Linked DNA regions of Homo sapiens: region 2 is linked to region 1. The links are contacts of gene promoters, found by promoter capture Hi-C in blood cells and fetal thymus (Javierre and others, 2016). All regions are on one chromosome and are shown on one strand. The core of a region is centred on a gene start or on the middle of the fragment in contact, and the rest is flanking DNA. Distances in the headings are between cores, read along the strand shown. Region 1 holds the start of SMG8 (SMG8 nonsense mediated mRNA decay factor). Region 2 overlaps TEX14 (testis expressed 14, intercellular bridge forming factor).

Evidence for each region. The method cuts DNA at HindIII sites, captures the fragments that hold promoters and counts their contacts. A CHiCAGO score of 5 or more calls a contact.
Region 2: a contact is called between a fragment that was not itself captured here and the fragment with the promoter of SMG8 in region 1, in 1 of 17 cell types (M2 macrophages). The highest score is 6.0, in M2 macrophages.

What each region holds. Positions count from the first base shown.
Region 1 is chr17:59,203,835-59,211,418 of GRCh38, forward strand. It overlaps SMG8 (SMG8 nonsense mediated mRNA decay factor), which reads left to right and starts at 6,201. Exons shown (of 4, transcript NM_018149.7): 1 at 6,201-7,584. The coding sequence starts at 6,218. PRR11 (proline rich 11) reads left to right here. Exons shown (of 10, transcript NM_018304.4): 10 at 1-2,875. RefSeq lists an enhancer at 6,010-6,079. The HindIII fragment of the contact is 12,029 bases long and covers 1-7,215 here.
Region 2 is chr17:58,672,643-58,680,226 of GRCh38, forward strand. All of the region lies in intron 1 of TEX14 (testis expressed 14, intercellular bridge forming factor), which reads right to left. The region is part of intron 1 of IGBP1C (IGBP1 family member C); the gene reads right to left. It also overlaps the pseudogene RNU1-52P and the pseudogene RNVU1-34. Among named protein-coding and RNA genes, the nearest start is that of IGBP1C, 16 kb to the right of the region's middle. The HindIII fragment of the contact is 226 bases long and covers 3,062-3,287 here.

The sequences.
Region 1 (7,584 bases), core at 4,951-7,450:
AAAAAAAAAAAAAAAAAATTAAATGGGTAGTGACGTTAAGAGATATATATCAGCTTCTAGTAAAAGTTTTTTTTTTTAAACCTGCTAGCTACATTTACATTATGTAAAAATAAAGGGAATAATCACTGAGAATAAAGCAGTTGAGTATTTATAACAATAATATTTTATGGGGCGCTTATAATGTTTATAATATTGTAAACCACTGTGTACTCTATTCATTTAATGCTAAATGACTTGACCATTCTTGTGGGATAAGAGATCATTAAAAAAATGCTAGGGCCGGGCACCATGGCTCACGCCTGTAATCCCAGGACTTTAGGAGGCCAAGGCAGGTGGATGACTTGAGCTCAGGAGTTTGAGACCAGCCTGGGCAACATGATGAAAACTCCGTCTCTACCAAAAATCAAAAAAATTAGCCAGGTGTGATGTTGTGTGCCTGTAGTCCCAGCTACTTGTGAGGCTGAGGTGGGAGGATGGTTTGGGCCCCGGAGGTAGAGGTTGCAGTGAGCTGAGATTGTGCCACTGTATTCCATCCTGGGCAACAGAGCCAGACCCTGCCTCAAAAAAAAAAAAAAAAAAAAAAAAGGCCTGGCACAGTGGCTCACGCCTGTAATCCCAGCACTTTGGGAGGCTGAGGCGGGCAAAACACTTGAGGTCAGACGTTTGAGACCAGCCTGGCCAACATGGTGAAACCCCGTCTCTACCAAAAATAAAAATAAAAATTATCCAGGCGTGGTGGCATGTGCCTATAGCCCCAGCTACTCAGGAAGCTAAAGCACGAGAATTATGTGCATCCTGGAGGTGAAGGTTGCAGTGAGCCAAGATCACACCACTCCACTCCAGTCTGGACAACAGAGTGAGACCCTGTGTCAAAAAAAAAAAAAAGAAAGAAAGAAAGAAAAAATGCTTTATGGCCCAGTGCAGTGGCTCACACCTATAATCCTAGCACTTTGGGAGGCTAAGGCAGGAGGATTGCTTGAGGCCAAGAGTTCAAAACAAGCCTGGGCAACATTGCAAGACCCCAACTCTACAAAAAACGAAAAATTAGCCGGGAGCGGTGATGTGTGCCTGTAGTCCCAGCTACTCAGGAGACTGAGGTGGGAGAATCACTTGAGCCTGGGAGGTTGAGGCTGCAGTGAGCTGTGTTTATACCACTGCACTCCAGCCTGCTGGGTAACAGAGCAAGACTCCATCTCAAAAAGAAAAGAAAAAATGCTTTGCTACATAATGAGGCCAGGCAAAAAAAAAAAAGTCCTGTGGAAATCATATAGACAAACATTTGCAAAGCTGCTACTGCCATTGTACCAGTGTTAAACTGTGTTCTACCTTGCATCTTTTACTGATTTTTATGACAGATTTTATATTGTAACCATTCGAGAACTCTGTAAGTGCTATGGCTTCCTTAAACTACGATTTATCATATGCTCCCGGTGTTTACTTTGAGACTGAATGGCAACCAGAGAATGTAAACAACCAAGGTGCATCTGGTTATGTTTTAAAATAAAGATTAATAAAAGTTTTGGTTTTTCTCTTTCTAACCTTCTTTTTAAACTAGAAATATAATACCTATAGAAAAGTAAATGTTGGCCGGGTGCGGTGGCTCATGCCTATAATCCCAGCACTTTGGGAGGCCGAGGCAGGCAGATCACCTGAGGTCAAGAGTTCGAGACCAGTCTGGCCAACATGGTGAAACCCTGTCTCTACTAAAAATACAAAAATTAGCCGGGCATAGTGGCAGACACCTGTAATCCCAGCTACTGGGAAGGCTGAGCCAGAATGGCTTGAACCTGGGAGGCAGAGGTTGCAGTGAGCCGAGATCGCCCCATTGCACTCCAGCTTGAGCAACAAGAGCGAAACTGTCTCAAAAAAAAAAAAAAAGTATATGTTAAGTATAGAAAAATATATAAATTAAAAAATTATAGGCTTGGGGGCCAGGCACAGTGGCTCACACCTGTAATCCCAGCACTTTGGGAGGCCGAGGTGGGTGTATCACTTGAGGTCAGGAGTTTGAGACCAGCCTGGCCAACATGGTGAAACCCCGTCTCTACCAAAAAAAATATATAAAAATTATCTGGGTGTGGTGGCATGTGCCTATAGTCTCAGCTTCTCAGAAGACTGAGGCGTGAGAATCACTTGAACGATGGAAGTGGAGGTTGCAGTGAGCTGAGATCACACTACTGCACTACAGTCTGGGCAACAGAGTGAGACCTTGTCTCAAAAAAAAAAGAAAGAAAAAGAAAAATGCTTTATGGCCCAGTGCAGTGGCTCACACCTATAATCCTAGCACTTTGGGAGGCTAAGGCAGGAGGTTCGCTTGAGGCCAAGAGTTCAAAACAAGCCTGGGCAACACTGCAAGACCCCAACTCTACAAAAAACGAAAAATTAGCCGGGAGCGGTGATGTGTGCCTGTAGTCCCAGCTACTCAGGAGACTGAGGTGGAAGAATCACTTGAGCCCGGGAGGTTGAGGCTGCAGTGAGCTGTGTTTATACCACTGCACTCCAGCCTGCTGGGTAACAGAGCAAGACTCCATCTCAAAAAGAAAAGAAAAAATGCTTTGCTACATAATGAGGCCAGGCAAAAAAAAAAAGTCCTGTGGAAATCATATAGACAAACATTTGCAAAGCTGCTACTGCCATTGTACCAGTGTTAAAATGTGTTCTACCTTGCATCTTTTACTGATTTTTATGACAGATTTTATATTGTAACCATTTGAGAACTCTGTAAGTGCTATGGCTTCCTTAAACTACGATTTATCATATGCTCCCAGTGTTTACTTTGAGACTGAATGGCAACCAGAGAATGTAAACAACCAAGGTGCATCTGGTTATGTTTTAAAATAAAGATTAATAAAAGTTTTGGTTTTTCTCTTTCTAACCTTCTTTTTAAACTAGAAATATAATACCTATAGAAAAGTAAATGTTGGCCGGGTGCGGTGGCTCATGCCTATAATCCCAGCACTTTGGGAGGCCGAGGCAGGCAGATCACCTGAGGTCAAGAGTTCGAGACCAGTCTGGCCAACATGGTGAAACCCTGTCTCTACTAAAAATACAAAAATTAGCCGGGCATAGTGGCAGACACCTGTAATCCCAGCTACTGGGAAGGCTGAGCCAGAATGGCTTGAACCTGGGAGGCAAAGGTTGCAGTGAGCCGAGATCGCCCCATTGTACTCCAGCTTGAGCAACAAGAGCGAAACTGTCTCAAAAAAAAAAAAAGTATATGTTAAGTATAGAAAAATATATAAATTAAAAAATTATAGGCTTGGGGGCCAGGCACAGTGGCTCACACCTGTAATCCCAGCACTTTGGGAGGCTGAGGTGGGAGGATCACTTGAGGCCAAGAGTTTGAAACCAGTATGGGCAACATTGCAAGACCCTGTCTCTACAAAAAACAAAAAATTAGCCGGGCATGGTGGCATGTGCCTGTAGTCCCAGCTACTCGGGAGACTGAGGTGGGAGAATCACTTGAGTCCAGGAGGTTGAGGCTCCAGCGAGCAGTGTTCATACCACCTGCACTCCAGCCTGCTGGGTGACAGAGCAAGATGCTGTCTCAAAAAAAAAAAAAAAAAAAAAAGAAAGAAAAAAGAAAAATGCTTTGCTATATAACGAAGCCAGGCAGGAAAAAAAAGTCCATATAGATAAACATTTGCAAAGCTGCTACTGCCATTGTACAGTGTTAAAATGTGTTCTACCTTGCATCTTTAAATAAAGATTAATAAAAGTTTTGGTTTTTCCCTTTTTAACCTTTTTTTTTAACTAGAAATAATAATACCTATAGAAAAGTATATATTGGCCGGGCGCAGTGGCTCACGCCTGTAATCCCAGCACTTTGGGAGCCCAAGGCAGGTGGATCATGAGGTCAGAAGATCAAGACCATCCTGGCTAACACGGTGAAACCTGGTCTCTACTAAAAATACAAAAAATTAGCCGGGCGTGGTGGCAGGCGCCTGTAGTCCCAGCTACTTGGGAGGCTGAGGCAGGAGAATGGCATGAACCCGGGAGGCAGAGCTTGCAGGGAGCTGAGATCACGCCACTGCACTCCAGCCTGGGCAACAGAGTGAGACTCTGTCTCAAAAAAACAAAAAAGTATATAGTAAGTATAGAAAATATATGAATTAAAAAATCAATGCCGAGCGTGATGGCTCAAACCTATAATCCCAGCACTTTGGGAGGCCGGGGTGGGCAGATCACCTGGGGTTGGAAGTTCGAGACCAGCCTGGCTAACGTGGGGAAACCCCATCTCTACTAAAAATACAAGTTTAGGTGGGCGTGGTGGTACGTGCTTGTAATCCCAGCTACTTGGGAGGCTGAGGCAGAAGAATTGCTTGAGGAGACGGAGACAGGGAATAGGAGATGGAGGTTGCCGTGATCCCAGATAGCACCACTGCACTTCAGCCTGGGTGACAGAGTGAGACTCTGTCTCACAAAAAAAAAAAAAAAAAATTTTAGGCCGGAGGCGAGGTGTGGTGGCTGACACCTGTAATCCCAGCACTTTGGGAGGCCGAGGTGGGTGGATGATGTGAGGTCGGGAGTTCGAGACCAGCCTGGCCAACATGGTGAAACACCATCTCTACTAAAAATACAAAAATTAGCCGCCCATGGTGGTGCACCTGTAATCCCAGCTCCTTGGGAGGCTGAGGCAGTAGAATCACTTGAACCTGGGAGGTGGAGTTTGCAGTGAGCTTAGATTGCACCACTGTACTCCACTCTGGGCAACAGAGCAAGACTCTGTCTCAAAATATATATAATATATATTATTATGTATATATATAATATATATTATTATGTATATGTGTAATATATATTATTATGTATATATATAATATATATATTATATCATAATCCCTTCCCTCACTAAGTAATCACTGACCTACTTGGTACAATAAATATTTCCTTGCTTTTAGTAAGAACACACCCCTAAATGCAATGGTTTATTTTGCTTGCTTTTGAACTCTATAGAAATAAAATCAGGCCTGGCGCAGTGGCTCTCGCCTGTAATCCCACCACTTTGGGAGGCCGAGGCGGGCAGATCATGAGATCAGGAGATTGAGACTATCCTGGCCAACATGGTGAAATCCTGTCTCTATTAAAAATACAAAAGTTAGCTGGGTGTGGTCTCACGCACCTGTAATCCCAGCTACTTGGGAGGCTGAGGCAAGAGAATCACTTGCACCGGGGAGCCGGAGGTTGCAGTGAGTCGAGATCGCGCCACTGAACTCTAGCCTGGCCACAGAGCAAGACTGCATCTCCAAAAAAAAAAAAAAAAAAAAAAAAAAATAGAATTATAGGGTATATACACTTTTGTTTCTGATTTCTTTCAATCAACATTTATTTTAAAGATTCAGTCATGTTATTGTATAGTGCTATAGATAATTTTTTTAGATTCAAAGATTTTTATTTTTTACAAAACCCCAGAATAATAAACGTTATAATTATACATTTAAATCTGGTTGTAAGTTTTATCCTGGCAGCTATTTGTCAATATGCCTTCTAGTTAGAGAGGTTCTGCAAGTTATAATTTACATACAAAGATATTTCGCAATTTTTTTTTTTTTTGAGACGGAGTCTCACTCTGTCGCCCAGGCTGGAGTGCAGCGGGGTGATCTCGGCTCACTGCAACCTCCACCTCCTGGTTCGAGCAATTCTCCTGCCTCAGCCTCCTGAGCAGCTGGAACTACAGGTATGCGCCACCACGCCTAATTTTTGCTTTTTTTTTTTTTTTTTTTTTTTTTTTTAGACGGTTTTCGCTCTTGTTGCCCAGGCTGGAGTGCAATGGTGTGATCTCGGTTCACTGCAACTTCCGCCTCCCGGGTTCAAGCGATTGTCCTGCCTCAGCCTCCCGAGTAGCTGGGATTACAGGCGCCCGCCACCACGCCCGGCTAATTTTCGTATTTTTAGTAGAGATGGGGTTTCACCATGTTGGCCAGCCTGGTCTCGAACTCCTGACTTCAGGTGATCCGCCCGCCTTGGCCTCCCAAAGTGCTAGGATTACAGGCGTGAGCCACCGCAGTAGTCCCAGTTTTGTTTTGTTTTTTTGTTTTTTGTTTTTGATATCTCAATTCCTACAGTTGAGGAAACAAACTAGGAGAGGAGAAGAGGAGGCGGAACTCAAGTGACGGGAAAGCAGGAACTGAAGAAGCGGAGGAAGGATTTCAAAATTGGACGAAAGCCGGTCGGTTTTACTAACGGACCGGAAGGACTCTAGAGAACGCTCTGCACTATGGCTGGTCCCGTGAGCTTGCGAGACCTTCTAATGGGAGCATCAGCCTGGATGGGCTCTGAAAGTCCCGGAGGGTCCCCTACTGAGGGCGGAGGGAGCGCGGCTGGCGGACCGGAGCCTCCATGGCGGGAGGATGAGATCTGCGTTGTGGGAATCTTCGGCAAGACGGCTCTACGCCTGAATTCCGAGAAGTTCTCTCTTGTGAATACGGTGTGCGACCGACAGGTCTTTCCTCTCTTTCGCCACCAAGATCCTGGGGATCCAGGACCTGGAATCAGAACTGAGGCTGGCGCCGTGGGTGAGGCCGGTGGAGCCGAGGACCCTGGGGCTGCAGCCGGGGGTTCAGTTCGGGGAAGTGGAGCTGTCGCGGAAGGTAACCGAACTGAGGCAGGCTCCCAGGACTACAGCCTTCTGCAGGCCTACTACAGTCAGGAAAGCAAAGTTCTGTATCTTCTCCTCACCTCCATCTGTGACAATTCACAGCTTCTCCGGGCTTGTCGGGCTCTTCAGAGCGGGGAAGCTGGAGGTGGACTCTCTTTACCTCATGCAGAAGCACACGAGTTCTGGAAGCATCAAGAGAAGCTGCAGTGCCTCAGTCTCCTTTACCTATTCTCTGTCTGTCATATCTTGCTTCTGGTCCATCCCACTTGTTCCTTTGATATCACTTATGATCGAGTATTCAGAGCCCTGGATGGGCTGAGACAGAAGGTCCTGCCGCTCCTTAAAACAGCCATTAAGGATTGTCCAGTTGGCAAAGACTGGAAGCTAAACTGCCGACCTTGCCCACCTAGACTCCTTTTCCTCTTTCAACTCAATGGAGCCCTCAAGGTAGAACCTCCTCGGAACCAAGACCCAGCTCATCCAGACAAGCCCAAGAAACATTCTCCCAAAAGGAGGCTGCAGCATGCCCTGGAGGACCAGATCTATAGAATCTTCCGGAAGAGTCGTGTCTTGACTAATCAGAGCATCAACTGCCTCTTTACTGTGCCTGCCAACCAAGCTTTCGTGTACATAGTACCGGGAAGCCAGGAGGAGGACCCAGTAGGTATGTTGCTGGACCAACTTAGGAGTCATTGTACTGTGAAGGACCCGGAATCTTTGCTGGTGCCTGCACCCCTTTCTGGGCCTAGGCGATACCAGGTGATGAGGCAGCACAGCCGACAACAACTTTCCTTTCACATTGACAGCAGCAGTTCCAGTTCTTCAGGCCAGCTAGTGGATTTCACTCTTCGGGAATTCCTATGGCAGCATGTGGAGCTAGTTCTAAGCAAGAAAGGTTTCGATGACAGTGTGGGCAGGAACCCACAGCCTTCCCATTTTGAACTTCCTACTTATCAGAAGTGGATCTCAGCAGCTTCAAAACTGTA
Region 2 (7,584 bases), core at 1,925-4,424, 530 kb before region 1:
CCATGTTGGCCAGGCTGGCCTCGAACTCCTTGGCCACCCAAAGTGCTGGGATTACAACTGTGAGCCACCATACCCAGTCGGCATTCCTTTTTTTCTTTGTTTGTTTTGAGATGGAGTCTCGCTCTGTCACCCGGGCTGGAGTGCAATGGTGTGATCTCGGCTTACTGCAACCTTTGCCTCCTGGGTTCAAGCGATTCTCCTGCTTCAGCCTCCTGAGTAGCTGGGATTACAGATGCGTGCCACCATGCCTGACTAATTTTTGTATTTTTAGTAGAGATGGGGTTTCTCCATGTTGGCCAGGCTGGTCTTGAACTCCTGACCTCAAGTGATCTGCTAGCCTCGAACTCCCAAAGTGCTGGGATTACAGGCATGAGCCACCACGCTCAGCCGGCATTCCTTTTATACATACTTTTTTTAAAAAAAATTTCTTACAATTGAGTGGTTCTCCATGACAGTGGAGCCACTCCCAAAGGGAAATTTTGAAACTCTGAGGGGATGTTTTTGTTTCCCTGGGTAGTCATGCCAAGCCTTTACATATTAAAATATTGTATTGTAGGGCAGGGCGCGGTAGCTTATGCCTGTATTCCCAGCACTTTGGAAGGCCGAGGTGGGTGGATTATAAGGTCAGGAGTTCAAGACCAGCCTGGCCAATATGGCGAAACCATAAAAAAAAAATAACAAATATAAAAAATTAGCCAGGCGTAGTGGTGCACACCTGTAGTCCCAGCTACTCAGGAGGCTGAGGCAGGAAAATCGGTTGAACCCAGGAGGCAAAGGTTGCAGTGAGCCGAGATCACGCCACTGCACTCCAGCCTACACGACAGAGTGAGACTCCATCTCAAAAATAAATAAATAAATAAATAAATAAATAAATAAATAATTGTATTGTAACTTATTTTTCTCTCTCCTTTATATTTGTATTGTTTTGTTTTTGAGACAGGGTCTTGTTCTGTAACCCAGGCTGGTTGGAATGCAGTCACGCAATTTCAGCTCACTGCATCCTCAACCTCTTGGGCTCAGGTGATCCTCCCACCTCACCCTCCCGAGTAGCTGGGACCACAGGCATGCACCACCATGCCCAGCTAATTTTTTCAATCTTTTTTTTGTTTTTCTACAGTTGGGGTTAAGCCATGTTGCCCAGCTTGGTCTCAAACTTCTTGGCTCAGGCGATCCTCCCACCCTCCCAAAGTCCTGGGATTATAGACGTGAGCCACCCCACGTGGCTTCTCTCCTTCATATTATAGTTAGGACATATTATCTGTGGGGTAACTATATGTAGTTTATATTTTCTACAAACATCTTCAAGGTAGTAAATGGAATGTTACTAGTTCTTATAAAAGGAAACCCTGGGCCGGGTGCGGTGTCTCCCACCTGTAATCCTGGCACTTTGGGAGGCCAAGGCGGGCAGATTGCCTGAGATCAGGAGTTCAAGACCAGTCTGGCCAACATGGTGAAACCCCATCTCTACTAAAACTACAAAAAATTTAGCTGGGTGTGGTGGCATGCGCCTATAATCCCAGCTACTCGGGAGGCTAAGGCAGGGGAATTGCTTGAACCAGGGAGGTGGAGGTTGCAGTGAGCCGAGATCGCACCACTGCACTCCAGCCTGGGCGACAGAGCAAGACTCTGTCTCAAAAAAAAAAAAGGAAACCCTTGATTTGACAGAATTGAGAACCACAAACTAATCCTATTGAACCCACATCCTTTTCACAGGAGTGAGAATAACTTATTTATGATGAAAGTCCGGCCAGGCGCAGTGGCTCACGCCTGTAATCCTAGCACTACAGGAGGCCAAGGTGGACAGATCACTTGAGGTCAGGAGTTCACAACCAGCCTGGCCAACGTGGCGAAACCCCGTCTCTACTAAAAATACAAAAATTAGCTGAGCATGGTGGCTCAGGCCTGTAATCCCAGCTACTCGAGACGGAGAGGCACAAGAATCGCTTGAACCTGGGAGGCGGAGGTTGCAGTGAGCCGAGATCCTGCCCCTGCACTCCAGCCTGGGTGACAGAGTGAGAATCCATCTCAAAAAACGAATAGAAACACTAAGAAGAAAACATAGATGTAAATCTTCCTGACCTCCAATTAGGGAATGATTTCTTACATATGACATCAAAAGCACAAGTATAGTATGTCAATTATCCTTCAATAAAGTGGTTAAAAAAAAAAAAAGATTTATCTTCGATGAGGCCTTTGGAAAAAAAAAAAAAAAGGCAGGTAGGCCGGGCACGGTGGCTCACACCTGTAATCCCAGCACTGTGGGAGGCTGAGGGGGGGTGCATCACTTGAAGCCAGGAGTTTGAGACCAGCCTGGCCAACATGACGAAACCCCATCTCTACAAAAAACACAAAAATTAGCTGGGCATGGTAGCACATGCCTATAACCCCAGCTTCTTGGGAGGCTGAGGCATGAGAATCACTTGAGCCTGGGAGGTGGAAGTTGCAGTGAGCTGACATTGTGCCATTGCACTCCAGCCTGGATGACACAGGGAAACCATCTCCAAAAAAAAAAAAAGATGCAAATAGCCAATAAGCACACGAAAATATGTTCAATATTCTTAGCCATCAGGGTAATACAAATCAAAATCACCATGAAATACCACTTCACCCTCACTATGATTGCTAGAATCAAAATGACAAGTATCTGGCTATGGGTGGGCAAACTAGTTGATTTTCCCGAAAAAAGCTAAAACTACAAAGAAGATTGTGCCAAGCCTTGAGTGTGTTGAGCCCAACTGCAGAACAAAGAGAATGCTGGGTATTAAGAGATGTAAGCATTTTGAAGTGAGAGGAGATGAGAAGAGAAAGGGCCAAATGATATCCAGTTCTAAGTGTCATCTTTTGTTTTATAATGAAGACAATACAATATTGGGGTTATGTTCACATAAAAAAGTCTCCAGACAATCTCTGGCTCTTTCTAAAAATCAAACTATCTTTTAAATGGGTGAATTGTATGGTATAATATTAACAGATGGTTTCCCCATCTCCCTTCCCCAGACAGACTCCTGATTATGACAAGGACTATGTTCCAAGGGTATCTGCATTCCCCTCACCCAGAATAAGCTTTGTTTACAATAAGTACCCCATTATATATTGGCTGAATTGAATGAACTGGAAATCAAACTCAGGAAGCATTTCCAAAAGGATTTCCTTTAAACATGTTTTTAATTTTTAGAGACAGGTTCTTGTTCTGTCGCCTGGGCCTCCAAAGGTACGGTGATTACAAGCACGAGCCACTGAGTCTGGACTTTTTGCATTTTTAAATTGATATATCATAGTAGTATGTAAGCTTTTCCCTTTTTAAAACTACTATGGGCCAGGTGCCGTGGCTCACACATGTATATCCCAGCACGTTGGGAGGCTGAGGTTAATGGATCACCTGAAGTCACGAGTTCGAGACCAGCCTGACCAACATGGTGAAACCCTCTCTACTAAAACATAAAAATTAGTCGGCCAGGTGCAGTTGCTCACGCCTGTGATCCCAGCACTTTGGAAGGCTGACGCAGGCAGATCACCTGAGATCAGGAGTTCAAGCCCAGCCTGGCCAAAATGGTGAAACCCCATCTCTACTAAAAATAAGAAAATTAGCCAGGCGTGGTGGCAGGTGCCTGTAATCCCAGCTACTCAGGAGGTTGAGGCAGGAGAATCACTTGAACCCTGGGGGCAGAGGTTGCAGTAAGCCAAGATCACAGCATTGCACTCCAGCTTGGGCAACAAGAGAGAAAATCCATCTCAAAAAAAACCAAAAAAACAAAAAAAAACACAAAAAAACCCAGGCGTGGTGGCAGGCGTCTGTAATCTCAGCTACTCGGGAGGCTGAGGCAAGAGAATCACTTGAACCTGGGAGGCAGAGGTTGCAGTGAGCCAAGATCATGCCATTGCACTCCAGACTGAGCAATAAGAGTGAAACTCCATCTCAAACAAAAGAAAACAAAACAAAACAAAACCAACAAACTACTATGTCAGAACCTAAAGGTGATCATTCAAAGTAGTCATTTTAGAATGCAATGAATGAATTTCAATTCTATAGTCATTGTTAAGAGCAGGTTAAAATCCTTTAGGGGCCAGGTATGGTACTCATTTTTGTAATCCCAGCACCTTGAGAGGCCGAGGTGGGAGGATCACTTGAGGCCAAGAGTTCGAGACCAGCCTGGGCAACATAGCGAGACCCTATGCTACAAAAAGTTCTTTTAAAATTAGCCAGCTGACCAGGTGGGGTGGCTCACGCCTGTAATCCCAGTACTTTGGGAGGACGAGGCAGGCAGATCACCTGAGGCCAGTCTGGCCAGCATGGCGAAACCCCGTCTCTACTAAAAAATACAAAAAAGTAGCCAGGTGTTGTGGCGGGTGCCTGTAATCCCAGCTACTCAGGAGGCTGAGGCAGGAGAATCGCTTGAACTCAGGAGGTGGAGGGTGCTGGGAGCCGAGATCAAACCATTGCACTCCAGCCTGGGCAACAAGAGGGAAACTCCGTCTCAAAAAAAAAAAAAAAAAAAAAATTAGCCAGCCGTGGTGGCACATGCCTGTACAGCTACTTGGAAGGCTGAGGCAGAAGGACTGAGTCCAGGAGGTCAAGGCTGCTTTGAGCCATGATTGAGCACCACTGTACTCCAGTCTGGGAGACAAGAGCAAGACCCTGTCTCTAAAAATAAAAATGCTTAAAGGAAATCCTTCCTGAGTTTGATTTCCAGTTCATTTGACTCAGCCAACATATATGTGGTACTCATTGTGTACAAAGTTTATGCTGGATTAAGGGAACACAGCCAAGAAAAAACACCAAGGAAGCCTGTTACTATCACAAACTAAATAGTAGTACAGCTTCTCACTTCCATGGAAATTTAAAGACACAGTTCACAAGAAACAAGCAAGGAGAAGCCAAACACGGCCACAGACAATCACATTGGCTACTTCCCATTTGACAAAGAATAACACAGGGGAAAGTGTGAACACAGTCGCCCACTACCACAAATTATGCAGTTGAGTATCCCACATTTGGGGAAATCACAGGGGCCAGCAAACACAGAATGCAATGAGTGAACCTTGCCCTGGGAAAACCACCTTTGTGGTCAGGGTATCTTCCCTGCCCGGTAAAGTGGAAGGCATGGTTGTTGCCTGACATCTCACCCTCAGATTCAAAACACTCTTCACATAGGGTCACTCTTCTTGCACAAGTTCTAGCCTGCTACTTACAAGATAAAGACTTTTCCAAAGTTTAAGAGCCAGAAATGGCTGGGCACGGTGGCTCACGCCTGTAATCCCAACACTTTGGGAGGCCAAGGCAGGCAGATCACGAGGTCAGGAGTTCAAGACCAGCCTGGCCAACATGGTGAAACCCCATCTCTACTAAAAATACAAAAATTAGCCTGGCATGGTGGCGGGTGCCTGTAAGCCCAGCTATTCGGGAGGCTGAGGCAGGAGAATTGCTTGAACCTGGTAGGCAGAGGTTGCAGTGAGCAGATATGGTGCCACTGCACTCCAGCCTGGGCGACAGAGCGAGACTCCAACTCAAGGGGGAAAAAAAAGGGAAGTTTTTAGATGTGATTGATTTAAGATGAAAAGCTTATCCAGATGGGCCTAATGTAATCACAGGGTCCTTAAGGGAAGGACACTGGAAGACAGTGTGGCGATTCCTCAAGGATCTAGAACTAGAAATACCATTTGATCCAGCAATCCCATTACTGGGTATATACCCAAAGGATTATAAATCATGCTACTATAAAGACACATGCACGTGTATGCTTATTGCAGCACTATTCACAATAGCAAAGACTTGGAACCAACCCAAATGTCCATCAATGATAGAATGGATTAAGAAAACGTGGCACATATACACCACGGAACACTATGCAGCCATAAAAAAGGATGAGTTCATGTCCTTTGTAGGGACATGGATGAAGCTGGAAACCATCATTCTGAGCAAACTTTGCAAGGACAGAAAACCAAACACCGTATGTTCTCACTCATAGGTGGGAATTGAACAATGAGAACACTTGAACACGGGGTGGGGAACATCATACACCAGGGTCTGTCATAGGATGGGGGAAACGGGGAGGGATAGCATTAGGAGACATACCTAATGTAAATGACGAGTTAATGGGTGCAGCAAACCAACATGGCACATGTATACATATGTAACAAACCTGCACGTTGTGCACATGTACCCTAGAACTTAAAGTATAATAATAATAATAATAATAATAATAATAATAATAAAAGAGAAGGACACTGGAGCCAGGCGCCGTGGCTCACACCTGTAATCCCAGCACTTTGGGAGGCCGAGGCAGGTAAATCACCTGAGGTTAGGAGTGCGAGACCAGCCTGGCCAACATGGTGAAACCCCGTCTCTACTAAAAATACAAACATTAGCAAGGCGTGGTGGCGTGTGCCTGTAATCCCAGCTACTCAAGAGGCTGAGGCAGGAGAATCCCTTGAACCCTTGAGGCTGAGGTTGCTGTGAGCTGAGATTGCGCCATTGTACTCCAGCCTGGGCTACAAGAGCGAAACGCCGTCTCCAAGAAAAGAAAAAAAACAGAAGGACTCTGGAGGTCCACAAAAAGATATAAAGACAGAAGAAAAGTCAGAAGATGCTAAATTGTTAGCTTTGAAAAGGAAAGGGCTACAAACAAGGAAAATGTGAAGGTAACACTCCCTTAGAGCCGCCAAAGGTATTCAACTGCGTACTTCTGATTGTAATGGCAAATCACTGTAGTACTCAATGACAACACCAACCACGAGGGGTGTGAGACCAAAAGCGTGTGTGGAGAAAAAAATGACCATTAGAAGGCATCAATCTCTCGCTATTCCAAAACAGGAGGTTACAATATAACACAGGAAAACCTACGAAGCAAAGATACAACGTACGCCTTTTATAAACAAGCCAGATCAGGGGAGAGAACCAACATAGTCCCCACTACCACAAATTATGCAATTAAGTTTCCCACATTTGTAGAAAACCACAGGGGTCAGCACATCCACAATGCAAGAGACAAACCTCACCCTGAAAAATCCACCTTTAATGATCATGTTATTTCCCTTGCCAGTTAAGTATGAGTCCCCAGCGCTGCCTGAGAGTTCACCCTTAGATTCAAACCACTCTAAATATAGGATCATTTTTCTCATGTGCTCTTTAGACCCCCTAATTTCTGGAATAAAGATATTTTCCAAACTACAATAACCCAGCACCTGTATTTTTAATATCTGGCTATTCAAAATCTTAAGAAATATAAGCCTAGGGTGCAAATAGCCAGCAGTCACTGCGCTTATCTACATACTCCACACCCCTTTGGATGATCTCATTCAGTATGTCCTTTCCTAGTATGCTTGGTGACACGACTGAAATAAAACTTAAAAATGCTCTACAGATTAAAAGGTAAATAACGTAAACTAGCTCCTGCCTTTAAGGGTTTGGCACTAATGATGCCACTATGGTGTCTTTTTTCTTTTTTTTTCCCCCCAGAGACAAAGTCTTGCTTTGTTGCCCAGGCTGGGGTACAGTAGTTATCGAACTTCTGGCCTCAGGGGATTTTCCTGTTTCAGTCTTCCCCAGCAGCTGCAAAAACAGGCGCGCACGGCTTTCTTGCGCAG